Linked DNA regions of Homo sapiens: regions 1 and 3 are each linked to region 2. Evidence: promoter capture Hi-C in human tissues and cell types (Jung and others, 2019). All regions are on one chromosome and are shown on one strand. The core of a region is centred on a gene start or on the middle of the fragment in contact, and the rest is flanking DNA. Distances in the headings are between cores, read along the strand shown. Region 1 overlaps PSD3 (pleckstrin and Sec7 domain containing 3). Region 2 holds the start of INTS10 (integrator complex subunit 10). Region 3 holds the start of PSD3 (pleckstrin and Sec7 domain containing 3).

The links. Contacts are between HindIII fragments. The study calls those that stand out against the background at their distance.
Region 1: a contact is called between a fragment that was not itself captured here and the fragment with the promoter of INTS10 in region 2, in 1 of the 25 tissues and cell types used here (hippocampus).
Region 3: a contact is called between a fragment that was not itself captured here and the fragment with the promoter of INTS10 in region 2, in 1 of the 25 tissues and cell types used here (hippocampus).

Annotation. Positions count from the first base shown.
Region 1 is chr8:18,864,143-18,868,800 of GRCh38, reverse strand. PSD3 (pleckstrin and Sec7 domain containing 3) reads left to right here. Exons shown (of 16, transcript NM_015310.4): 4 at 732-1,127. Among named protein-coding and RNA genes, the nearest start is that of PSD3-AS1, 150 kb to the right of the region's middle. The HindIII fragment of the contact is 4,896 bases long and covers 1-4,510 here.
Region 2 is chr8:19,816,076-19,820,491 of GRCh38, reverse strand. It overlaps INTS10 (integrator complex subunit 10), which reads right to left and starts at 3,076. Exons shown (of 17, transcript NM_018142.4): 1 at 2,826-3,076; 2 at 2,150-2,217; 3 at 816-919; 4 at 1-113. The coding sequence starts at 2,954. RefSeq lists enhancers at 2,136-2,225, 2,436-2,525, 3,026-3,085, 3,126-3,205 and silencers at 2,706-2,835, 3,356-3,495. The HindIII fragment of the contact is 14,804 bases long and covers 1,878-4,416 here.
Region 3 is chr8:19,011,873-19,016,167 of GRCh38, reverse strand. It overlaps PSD3 (pleckstrin and Sec7 domain containing 3), which reads left to right and starts at 2,465. Exons shown (of 16, transcript NM_015310.4): 1 at 2,465-2,605. The coding sequence starts at 2,585. It overlaps LOC124901898 (a long non-coding RNA gene), which reads right to left and starts at 2,165. Exons shown (of 2, transcript XR_007060840.1): 1 at 1,972-2,165. RefSeq lists silencers at 2,322-2,411, 2,482-2,581. The HindIII fragment of the contact is 4,673 bases long and covers 1-4,199 here.

The sequences.
Region 1 (4,658 bases), core at 813-3,312, 950 kb after region 2:
TTTACTTAGTTATCCTAATGTTCGTTTTTAATATTTGTAGAACATGCTGCATATTAATTGTTCACGTTTGTGTGCCAAAGTGAATGCCCTACCCTGTATGTTGACTTTTGAGCTGTTTCTAATCTCTCAAAGCTTTGGTTAGCCTTGCTTCTGTTGCCTTTTTGTTAGGCCGTTAATTGGCTATCTAATTTTGGACGTGAAATCTCTCTGCAGTGCTGCTCTGTTGTCAGCAGGGGGCAGCTCTTGGCTTCTGATGCAGTCATCTGCTTGAGAGCATTTGGCCTTATTTAAATCAGAAAGTATTAATCAACTGATGAAAGTTTGGTGTATTTTTACTGAAATTTTGCCGTATCAAGTTTCCATGATATATTTATCTGCTTCTGTTATAATTAGGAATGCTGGTAGTTGCAAATAATCTGAATGTGTACGGTATATTTGGCTAAAATGAGAATTGAATATTTTATTCATATCTTCATTGGACCAGATGTATTCACACATTAGGAAACTAGTTTGAAACTTTATTAAAGTATTTATAGTGTCCTAGCCACATGCATGCCAAGAATTTTTCAACCTGATTATATTTCATAGCTTCCTTCCCAAATATGTTAAGATATAAGTCAATGAATAGAAGAGTTAGATCTTCAGAATGTTGTCCTTTTTATATGGTTGAAGTGGGAGAAATAAAGACATTAACCTAATATTGGAATTCTTCACTCTTATTTACTTTCCAGGATCAGCGAACAAGAGGAGCACGTTAAGGGGGAAGATGAAGACATCCTTGGGCCTGGATATACGGAGGACTCCACCGACGTGTACAGCTCCCAGTTTGAAACCATTTTGGACAACACTTCTTTATACTACAGTGCAGAGTCCCTGGAGACATTATACTCAGAGCCTGATAGCTATTTTAGCTTTGAAATGCCCCTCACTCCAATGATACAACAGCGCATTAAAGAAGGTGGTCAGTTCTTGGAGAGGACATCAGGGGGAGGACATCAGGATATCCTGAGTGTGTCTGCAGATGGTGGCATCGTGATGGGCTATTCTAGTGGCGTCACCAATGGGCTGAATGATGCCAGCGACTCCATCTACACGAAAGGCACCCCGGAGATTGCTTTCTGGGGAAGGTACTCGTCCCATTCTCATTCATTTCATGCTGGTGGTTTTTGTAGGATTTCTTTTCTGGGAAATCTGAGTGTGGAATATATATTTAAATCATTTGGCCAATTTCTGTGGACATAAGCAAATGATGTGAGTAAAAAGTAATTTGAGTTTTAGGGCAGGAAAGACACACCTTAGTGGTTTGTCACATTGGCACACTGTGATCATTTTAGTCTGTGGGATTTCCTGGATGACTATATATAAATTGGATACCAAACAAATATTTGGGGATGATGAGTGAGGTTATCAGCTCCGATGATGGCAGAGACGTGGTGCTGTGAAACGAACACTGAGAGATCGTAGCTTTAGTCTGGCACTGAGGGTGGTTGAAGACTTCAAGAAGATTGTTTGATTAGCTCAGAGATTCCTTCATTGGAAATTAAAGTGGTGGACTATACAGTCAGCAAAGTCTCTTCCAGCCCTTTGCTCTGAGAGTTCCTGTTCTGTCTTCCTGTTCCTGACGTGTTGAAGGAAGGATCCGATTAGACAGATGCTTGAGAGAGCTGATATCTTGGTCTAGGCTCCGTATTTATTTTCTCTCTCTACTTTAGGATTTTTAATCTATCTGGGAGATAAAATGACAAATTATGTACATTGTATCCACCATGCCTGTTATTTGGGGATTCCGCGACTATTTATGGATTATCCAGCGTTTCATTTCTTCATGCTCGTCATCCTCAGGTTATCTACCTGTGACAATTTTATGAATTTTGTTTTGGTATATGTGTGTGTGTGTGTGTGTGTGTATGTATGTATGTTTGTGTGGAGCTGGTGGGAGGTGTTAAATGGTGATCAACTATTTTAAAGCTGTTTAAAGCTGTATTAAATAATACCAGTGTTTTTTGTTAAAAAAAAAAAAAGCCAGTATTAATATTACAGGTTTTCAATGGACCTCTCTTTTTGAGCAGTCTGCCCTGTGCTGAGCATTTTCTATAACCAGTTTGAAGGTTTATAGTTCATTAGATGAGCAAATTCAGGATTGGCTCCTTGTGACATTGTAGCTATGCATTTTCTTGTGAATATGGATTGTGGATATTGGTTGTCTTACTGGGTCACAGTGAGAATAAAAAGAACAAGGTGTCAAAACCACAAGACTTTGGTCTGAAGTACTTGGGCAAGCCACTTACGTTCTCTGAAACTGGATTTATTTATTTGCGAAATGGGGTTAATGATCCAGTGTGTTGTGAGGCTGTGAGATTTAAAGGGTTAATAGAGACTAAAGCACCTCGCACAGGACATGGTACAAAGCAGAGCCTGGGTAAGTGTGTGCATATGAACTGGTTGCCTGGTTAGTCCACATCTAGACTTCTTGTATCTCTGAGATCAGAGTGTCTCTCAGTGGAAGAGTACTGGCGAGGAGGCATTCCTGAAAGCAGTGTCCCCGTGAGGCGGTGCTCCTCAGTGGAGGGTGCCACCTTAGTCCTCCCCTTTCACCTTCGTCTCTGAGGACTGCAAATTGTGATAAAACGCTGTAGGAAAGGTATGCAGATAATTGCACTGAAATTCCCACTCAGTTTTCTAGGGTGAGTGGAAGTTGTTTATATTACAGACCAAACATGGTTTGGGGAGTGGAAGAGTTTTGGGCTAAGAGGCTTCACTGCAAAAGCCACAGGGAGTGGTTGTAAGTGAAGCCGAGAGATGAACACCAGTGAAGGAACTGGGTGAAAGGTTTATTAAATGTGCGGCTTGTGCACTTAGAACAGGAGGTTGTCATCATTTGGGCCAGCATGGGTGCCAGTCACGAGGATGGACAGAGTTGGGAGAGAATATTAGAGTAGGTCATAGTATTTTAGCATCTCATATTTAGACAGTGGTATTCTTCAGGCCGTGTTGAGATAAAGTTTCAGCTGTGTCACCTGCATTGTCAAACCAGGAGATCTTGTCTAGTGGTAAAGGACCACGTTCTAGTGGTGAGTGACAAGCACCTTGGAGACGCGCCAGCTTGCCTCTCCCCGAGTCTGGGCACTCCTACTGTACAATTCCTGATTGGTGGTCATCCTACCATGTGCTGAGCACTGCCAGTGGCTTGGACAGACAAGCTTGGCAGGACTCCCCCATTTTGTGTTATTTGAGGTTGGCATATGATAATAAGTGGTTACAGGTGGAGGAAGCTTTATTTTGTGATGTATGTCTCTATTCAAGGTTAAAAGGTAGGGCAGGTTTAATGATCCTAAGAAATTTTAAGGAAACTGAAAAACCCATATTTTTCTTTACTCCCTTCTACCTTCCTTGCTGATTTGGAGAAGTTGTAACCAAAGAAGAATTGTGTTACTATTGTGGGTTAGAGAATGAGAACATTTTACTACTTGAAGGGGCCTCAGATAGCCTTTAAAAAAAAAAAAAAAAAAAAAAATATATATATATATATATATATATATATATATATATATATATATATATATATATATATATATAACATAGAATCTGTATTCCAGTTTGGTGGGATATCTTACCCAAAGCCACGTGGCTGTCTTGTGACAGATACCGTAGTAGAATTCAAGTTGTCTGGCTCCTAGGCCGGATTCATTCACTGTGCTAGGTGTTGGGTCTTTTATTTTGTTATTCTTCTTTTGATCGGATTTCTCTCATGCCATGTGTTGATAAAGCCGGAAGTCTGAGATGGTCTGTTTTCAAGAAACTAAGTTCTAAATGTAGAGCTGCTTGTTGTTGTTGTCGGTGGTGGTGTATGCATTCAATTTGAAGGAAAATTTACCAGGTCAATAATACACACGTTTCCACACATTTTTAAAGCAATCAGTGAGCTGGCCTTTTAAAATTTCATCTGCGTTAAAACATCCCTCTGCCGAGGCAAGGAAGTGGACATTGAGGTATTAAGCCTGTCCTTCAGCCAAGCACTGAGGGCCCAAGTGTTAGAATTAAAGGAAAAAAAATTTCCCATTGTATTAATATATTTACAAAAGAAAAGTCATAAATAAAAGCAGTGGCCATGCCTCCATTCCATCTGTGTTCACTCGCCTCTCCTGCTTCCTTGCTAGTGGTGGGGGTCTGAGTACATTGCATAAAGTGAGCTCTGAGGAAGGCTTAAAAGAAAAGGAATAAGACTAATGAATTCTCCCCTGATCGCGCCTCCTTGATATTTGGTAGACATGAACCAAGGAAATTAAATATTGATTTTAATGTATAAAGTGTTAGTCGCTAGCTTGTAAAAAATATTATTACTTTAGCTAGTCTCTGAACATAATTGTGTGTCATATGTGGCCCATAGGTTTGATTTATTTAGTAAACACATGATGCTTCGTTCTCATAATGAGCTATAGGGGGAAGAAAGGAACTATTAGTGTTCTAATTTTCCGAATAAGGAAACTGAGGTACAGAGAGGTTGAGTAACTTGCTAAAGGTCACACAGATGGTAAGTGGCATACTCAGCCCTCGAACACAGGCAGTCAGCCTCCAGAGCCCGTGCTCTTACTGAGCTATGCTGAACTGGACCAAGTGGTAATGATTTCATGGTAGATCTAGAACAAGACCAGATATCT
Region 2 (4,416 bases), core at 1,827-4,326:
GCGCCTCAAAAGTAGAAGCAACATTTCTGATCGTTCTAACGTGTTGAAGCATTGTTCCGTGACCTTTAGTAACATTTCACACTGGACCCGACCAGGAAGAGTTTCAAATAAACCTGTACGAAACATATTTCACTTTTAAAAGTTTCTTGCGGACAGAAAAGACTGCAGCAACAGTGCTGAGTAAGGCATTTTCATGTACAGAACAGTAAACACTACATGTGAAATCAATGCAGTTAAGTTTCACCTACAACCTGGCAGCCTTTTGGAGCCAATAGTATCTGGCACAGGATGTTTGCTGAATAATGGTAAAATATTTGCAAGACTGATCAAATTCAAAAAACAATGATGTATGTGAATGGTCACAAGAATGCCTGTTGCAGGTTGAGATAGAGAGCATGTGCTTGTTGAAGTTCAAATGACCTATGCATCTACTTGCTATTTTATCTAGAGTTTGAAATCTTTGATTGACTACAGCAACATACAGAAGTTTAAAGAGAAAGCTTCTAAATTACTAAAAGCTTCTCTCCTGTTTTGTGGAGAGCTGGTTAATCTATAGCTGCTATCTGGTTATTGTAAAACCTGTTAAAAATATATACAATTAATTCCTCGTCTCACTGATAAATCCATATCCTTTAAAGAAGCTTAAAGGGTTCTAAGCAAGTCAAGGAACCGAGTGACATTATTATAGACTTTGGTTGCCAAGAATAAAACATACATATGGTTACCAATACCCCAGGTGTGACTTTTTTGTGTGTGAAATTACTATATATGATTTGGTATTCCCGAAATGGTAACTTATACACCATTATTCTTACTTCTTAAAAATTGGGTTTGTTTGTCCTGTGAATCGTTCCTTAATGCTGATGTAATAATGCTGATTTCTCTCCACACCACCGGCTGGTCTGGGAAATTCACAAACCTATTTTTAAAATAAATACATTAAATTAAAATGTCAAAGTCTATACAGTATCCAAAAGAAAAAACGTTAGCATTTGGTGAAAAAGTTTCCTTTATTCCAAGTGAATGCTTAGACGTGCCAAAACAAACCAAAATAAAAATGTAAAAATAAGAATTACTTGATTTATAAAAATGAGAGTACTCACATAAGTCTTTAGTGGGTTTTATAGGTGAAAAGACAAGTAACCATAACATAGAAAGAGCTTCTAAAAGTCAACAAGAATAAAACAAACTATTTGAAAGAAAAAATAGGCAAAGGCAAATCACAGAATACACACAGCCAAAGAGAACAGTTGAAACAATACTGAATCTTATTAACAGTATGAGTAGTACAAATTTTTTTTTAAAATAGCAAGATACCATTTTCTCCTATCACAGTGACAAGAACTAAAAAGAGACTAATAATATCCAGTGTTGGGAAGGGTATGGGAAAACACACTCTTTATACACCATTGGTGGTAATGTAGACTGGGATCGCACATTTTGGAGAGTAATTTCATAGCGTATCAAATTTTCAAATGCGCATAAACTTTGACTATGAAAATGTCTTAGAATCTATTCCACAGAAAAACACCAAAATATGACTACAAAATTGTTGACACACTGAATATAATTTCAAATAATTTAAAACTATCTATTTAAATGTCTACCAAGAAGAGAGTGTCTACGAAATACTACACAGGCATGAAAAGGAATGAAGTGGATCTCTACATACTGATATGGGAAGGGGTCCATGAGAGTGAGTAAAGGAAACATGCTGCAGGGCAAAGGTAGTATGGTCTTCTCACTTTTGTAACCCCTTCCCCCCAAAACCTTATTTATGTATTATGCATACATGTATAGATATACTGCCTACAAAACTTAACTCTGGTTCAGTTTAGGATGCACTTTCACTTTTTGTTCTCTATAACAAGTAGTGTTTGAATTTTTGTAATGAGCACATATTATTTCTAGAATAAATTATGAAACAGAAGTTTTAACAAGGATAAAACATAAGAATAATAATTAAACTCTTCTGCAAAAGCCATGTCAGCAATTTATGGCAGGCCTGGACTCCTTACTAGGTTTGCTTTAGGTATCGAAGATATAGATGAACTTGAAGATCTTCCCCCAACTCCCACTTCTGCAGAGAGAAACAAAACCTCATGGAGAGATTCAGTGCAGTAAAAGTGATGTCAAGCGTCCCACTCACATGTCGTACAGCAGCCTCCCGGCGGTGGCGGTCCGCTCTGCATTCCGCTCGATGGTGTACATCTCATACTGCAACACACATCAGGCACCCTGGTCACTCACCCCTGCCCAGAAGGCTCCCAGCTCATCCAGCATCGCTCGTTGGCCCTCCTGCAGGAAGGGAGGGCCTGAGAGTGAAGCTCCGCCTGGTGACACAGCGCCACATACATGGCAGACTTGCCATTGGGCTTAGAGTGTGACCCTGGGGTTCACCTGCAATCTCAGGCTCCCAGGATTAAGTAGGATAATATTTCCAAAGTCGCAGGCCCTGAACAAACTGCTGCCATTATGATGAATGAAGGAGCGAATGGCCTTTTGCTAGTGGCGATCATGTGCTGTCTAGGCCAGATGGCACGCTGAGCCCCAGGGACCTAAGCACACCCGACCTCAAGCGGGATCGGCCGTCTCTCAAGTGCTGGGGAGAGGGCTCCTGGAAGGTGTAGGAGCAAGGCGGGTGAAAGGTGTAGGAGCAAGGTGTAGGATGGGAGGGGAGAGAGGAGGGGGTGGGAGGGGAGAAAGCAGGGGGCCGGGCAGGAGGCGGCAGCCCCCAGGCAGGCGCAGCTCTGGGCCAGGGCAGCCCGGGCGACGGGAGCGCGCACCTCCACGCAGAGCGGCCGCATGCACAGCCGGGACCTCACCTGGATGTTAAAGTCTGCCGGGTAGAGGCTGCGGGCCGTGATCAGCCACGCCTTGGCTGCCCACAGGTCTTGCGGCACCAACTCCCGGGCTCGCTGCACCAGGAACTCGCAGTCCCCCTGGGCAGACATGACCCGAGCGCTCTCCAGCCGCCAGCCCGAAGCGGCCGGAACGTCCGGCTCTGGACTCTCAGCCGCCACGGCAGCCACCGCCGCCGCCGCCGCCACCGCGGGGGAGGCTACTGCGCATGTCTGGAGGCGCACGGAGGCTGGCAGAGTGGATCGGGAAAGCTTTTCCGGGTTTTGCGAGCAGTCTCCTCCCCTTGGCTCCTCGTTACCGCCCGGTCCCCTCCTCTTCTGAGAAGCCAGAGCAGTTGAACCGCTTCCAGGTCACCTCGAAAATGCGGAGAAGTGGATTTTCATTCCTGCGGGCTGCAGCGTGACCTTGGTGAAGTCAGGGAGCATGCGCGGGAGCGGGCAGGCGCCAGGCCTCTTCGCCATTTCCATCCTCTCTGGGTATTGCTCAGTTTGTCGGGGGCGGGGGCGGAGGCGGGGGCGGGGAGACGGGCGGTCCCGGGGAATGGGCGGTCCCTGGGCGTCCCCCCGGCGTGGAAGGTTGAGAAGAAGTTTGAGAGGAACAGCAGAGGGTCGGGGAGGCGGCGGGAAGCACTCTCCACCCGGGCCGGCCTGAAACACCTTCCCCGGGGGCCGCTGCCTGCGACTCACTCCCCGGGCTTCGATTTACGCGAAAACTCCTGGGGCTGGTGGGGGTGATCGTGCAAAGCGTGAGCTCCGGGGTTCCTTCTCTTTCCGAAATCCGTCCACGTTTTATTATTTCACCTTTATGCACCGGTTTCTCCAACAAACGTTTATTGAGCAACGAAGTACTTGGAAAGCGCTTTGGTGGATGCCGTCCGTGGGAGCTGCAAAGATGACTAAAACCCTGACCCAGCAAGGGTTTTATATGTTTTAAATGTTCTGGACGTGAAACCCACAGAAAGATAACTACGCTATTATTATAATTATCTCCTCCAGCCACAATCAATGTCCTTTTCACCAAAACTCCAGATTTGTTTTCCATCTAAGAGATGAAAAACATCTAGGAGATTCTCCATCTAAGAGATTCTCTTGCCTCAGCCTCTCGAGTGGCTGGGATTACAGGCGTCCACCACGACGCGCTAGCCCGGCCAATTTTTGTATTTTTAGTAGAGACGGGGTTTCACCATGTTGGCCAGGCTGGTCTGGAACTCCCGACCCCAGGTGATCCGCCCTCCTTCGCCTCCCAAAAGTGCTGAAATTACAGGCATGAGCCACCGTGCTGGGCTTCGAAGCACTGTTTAATATCTCCTACTTATGCACAGAACAGCATAACTGTATGATTACTTTATGGGCCAGGATTACTCAGTGATACAGTTATTTTGGGTTTGTAGAATAGAAGATGGTAGAAAATTGGATTTAAACGGAGTAGGATAATTTTTATGTTATAAAGTGTACAGCATAAAAGCAGATTGCTAGCTTGAATTGTTAAAATTATTTCATTGATGTTAATATATGAAGTGTAAGAATTTTCAAATGGTAAAAATGACTGATTTGG
Region 3 (4,295 bases), core at 614-3,113, 800 kb after region 2:
GGCTATGGTAGCAGAAATGGGGATTCTTACTTCATTTTTAATATTTCCAAAAGCCTAACAAAATATTTACACACAAAATACATGCTGGCAAAAATGAAATGTCAATGTTTATTTGATTTGCTTTAGGCTTCATTGACTTAGTAGTGGTAACACTGGCTAATTTATGCTGATCAGAACCTCTAACCATTTTATCTTTGATTATTTATAACTGGACGAATGAATGATTATTTAATAGATGTGATCAGCTTTATAAGTACAATCTTAAAATATTTTGGCTTCAGGGATAAAACCAATTAAAAATTTCCTTTGCGATGGAAATTGGAAACACATTTCTGTGGCTTCACTTATGAAATGCTCCTCTATTGAACATTCACTATAGGCCAGGAGCTTTCCTTAATTTATCATGCTAATAACACTTCTGTATGGCATTATTAACCCAATTTTATAAATGAGGAAACAGAGGCTCAGATTATAGATGTCTATGCCCAAGTCCCTTAACTAGAAATATCAAGTAAATCTATGTCCACCCTGCCTCCTATATGATTACTTTTTTTTGTTTGTTTATGAGTTGGTTAATTTCCCAGGTAAAGGCCAGTAGGCCAGTGGTCAAGCCTCAGGGTAGCAACTACATTTTGTACTGGGTCTTACTTTTGATGCTTTGCCAACAAAACCGTCAAGGAAGGCAGGAGTTGACTGGGAATAGGCACACTGGGACTGTCTCTGTAGGGTATGTACGCAAGGGTAAAGGGAGATCACAAACGAGAAATATGCCTGTATTCGTCCATTTTCACACTGCTGATAAAGACACACCGGAGACTGGGCAGTTTACAAATGAAAGAGGTTTATTGGACTTGCAGTTCCACATGGTTGGGAGGCCTCACAATCATGGCGTAAAGCAAGGAGGAGCATGTCACATCTTAAGCGGATGGCAGTAGGCCAAGAGAGAGCTTGTGCAACAAGCGCTCCCATTTTTAAAATCTTCAGATCTCGTGAGACTCATTCACTATGACGAGAACAGCCCAGGAAAGACCCGCCCCCATAATTCAATCACCTCCCACAAGGTTCCTCCCACACACCTGGGAACTGCGGGACTTACAATTCAAGATGAGATTTGGGTGGGGATACAGCCAAACCATATCAATGCCCAAGTGACTGGGGTGCTTCCAAACCTACACAGCTGCTCACACTGCTGCTCTGGCAGGGGGAGCATGAGCTGCGGACGTTTTTCTGAAGTTGGAGTGAATTTGTATAAAGGCATACACTCCCTCATGCTGGCTCCTCTGGTGGGTGTCCAAGGCTTCCTTTGATAGATGCAGATGGGGCAGCCAAGGCAAAGTAGGTGACTTATGTGGCCTTGGTGCATCTCAGCTATGCTCACCGGGCAGCCCATGCTGACATGGTGGGCGAGATCGTGGGGCCACCAGGGAACCTGACTCCACTCCCATCTCTAAGCTTGGCCAAGTCAGTCACTTCTCGTTATTGGGGCGTCTTCTACCTGTCACTTGAAAAAGACTGTTCTTTGGAACAATAAGGCGGTAACACATACACAGGACCACCCTGTAGCCGGCCACACAGGTTCCGCCTCCAGGTGCTTGGATCTACTTAACGGACCTCCCAGGGGGAAAGATTTGCGGTCTCTCCGTCCCTCTACCAGGGGAGGGCGCCGTTCCAGCCCTTGCCTCTGCGGCACAGATCAAAGGACGGAGGAAAAAAGGTGCGGGTCCGGGGCACTAATGTTCGAAAATGCAGTTTTAAGTGACCTCTCCCCGCGCACGCACTGTCGGTGGGGGCAGTCCCGAGGCCAGGCTGCGGGGCGCCTGGGGGGACTCGCCTCAGGGGGAAATGGCCCTTTCAGGGCTCGACGGGTCCCCGGGACTAAACGCTCCGGCCGCGGATCGGTGCCGGGGGAGCCCGGTCAGAGAGGCCGGGACCCCGAGGGACGCCTAGGTGCGTGTCCCGAAGCCCGCGTACCTCCAGCCCCGGCGAGACGGCGCCCAACTCGCGGCTCCAGTCACACGGCCCTTCCTGAGAGGAAACACCAGGGAAAGCACCTCTCACTTTTCTCAGGGTGGGAAAACTGTGAAGGAAGAAGACAAAGCAACAGGCAGGTTTTCGCTCGCGGGCTGGAGGCTGGGCCCAGGGCGGGCGCGCGGCTGCGGGAGGCAGCGGACGGTCCGGGCCGCTCGAGGGCTGCACTGCGAGGGTCTGGATCGCCTCCAGCCTCCCCCGGAGGCCCCGCCCCTGCCCTGGAGACCCCGCCCCCGCCTCGGAGGCCCAGCCACCTCCCCCCTCCCCGAGGCGTCGGCCCCGCCTCTCCGCCCTCCGCCCTCCGCCCCCGGGGCCCGCCACCGCCGGCCCGCCTGCGCCGCCTTCGCTTTGACGTTACTGGGGGCCGGGCGGGCGGCTGCCGCGGGCTCGCAGCCTCGCCAGCCTCCGCCAGGGTGCGCGCGGGCCGCCGCCTCTCGGCAGTCCCGGGAGCTCAACAAAGAGCACGCGGCGCTGGCCGCCGGCACTCGCGCCCTGAGGCTGCGGCCCCGGAGCGCCCGGCGGCGGTTTCGGCGCGCGGCCGGGCTGGCGATGGAAGATGGAAGGAAGGAGCGCAGCGGTGAGCTCCGGGGCCGGGGCGCGGGCGCGGGGTGCGCACGCGGCGCCGCTGTTCGACGTGGGGTTTGTGTTGCTTTGTCGCCGCTCTGTCCCCCAGGATCCCGGGGCCACCTGGGTTTGTGCTGTCTGGATAGGTGCAGGGTGCGATTTTTCTCTTCGCGCTTGCTTGCTTTGTGTTTTTTAGGAGCCCAGCAGGGTCAACTTTGTGGTGTTAAGGTTTAGGGGTTTTAGTTCATACCTCGGCTTTGAAAACCTCAGACTTTGGAGAAAAGCTATCAAAAGAAGGCAACATGAAAGAGGACCTCGTATGCCGATCTTTCTTTGCCCGGTCAGCTTGTATTTAGGGACTATCACGTTTCTGTCAGAAAGAAAGAAAAAAAGACTAAACTAAACAAACTTGAATTGAGCGAGCAAACGGACAAGGGAAGATTATTCGGTGCAATTCCCAGGAGCTTTTACAGATGTTTAAGTCATTCTGTTTTACATGCATTTAACTTTATCCGCCGTTTTCAGCTTTCCGTTCTGGCGAATGATGTTCTGAATTTTTTTTTTAAACACATTAACACCGATTAGAGGACGTGGGTTTAGAATGTTGTTGGTGACCTAAATAATAAATGTTTCGTTTTGCCATTCCCCTCGATGTCAAAGGATGTTAAACGCCCACTAGGCAGAGGATGGAATGGGCACCACGATTTCATTTTCTAGACACTGGTTCTCCCGATAGCGGGATCCAGGATTTCCGCTCCAGAATAACTCTTGAGTGGGTCCAGGTGTTGGTGTAGGGAAGACGGAGATCTGGAAAATTACTGTAAGTGGGATTCTGGCAACAAATGCCTCAATGCGTTCGTTGTAATTGAGTATGTGCAAAGGATTTTGCAAAGCCCGGTAGCTAGGTAAGTAGGATAGGATTTCTGCTTTCAAGAAGCGTGCTTGAGAGCTTGCCTGGGAGAGACTTATGCGTAGGCTACCATGGAGGATCTCAGAGGAAGCTTCTGGCCTCCGGGCTTGGAAGTTCTCAGAGAGGAGCTGGCAGTTATGCTGGACCTTGAAAGGGAGGGGTTGATTGGATTTTTGTGAGATGTGAGGGAAAGGATGTCCCCTGCTAAAGGAAAGGGAATTCACTTTCTACCCTTTTCCAAGAAATGATCCTTTCTTTTCTGAGAGTATTTACAAACCAAGAGGTTTTCTTTTCAAAAAGTCATGAAATTCCTCTTCAGCAGTTAAAAGTGCAACATGCTCAACATCACCAGTTAAGCAAATGCAAAATAAATTAGCACCTTTTCAACCAGTTTTTAGTGGCTGGCTGGATGTCCTTCCACAACCTTTTTATATCCATCCACAAGTGATTTGTCTTGTAAGATATTTCATTAATAGAAGCTTTTTGTACTAAAAGGAGTAGAGTGGTATCAAGAAAGGGACTTGGATCTGTAGGTAGGACACCTAGCTTAGAGGCTTTGCCACTGACTGGGTGAGTTTTTGCCACCGTCTTGGGCAAATTATTTAACTTCTGTCGCTACAGTTTCCTGGTAGGGTGAGGGGATTAGGTAGATGCTCTTTCAGAGCCTTCTAGCCCTACCATTTGATATTTCCATGCCTAGACACGTTTTATGCATTACTTATTCAGTGATGTACTCTTAATTTCACATTCTAAATATCTGTTTGTGTGTTCTGTGAATGGATCAGCACTCTTA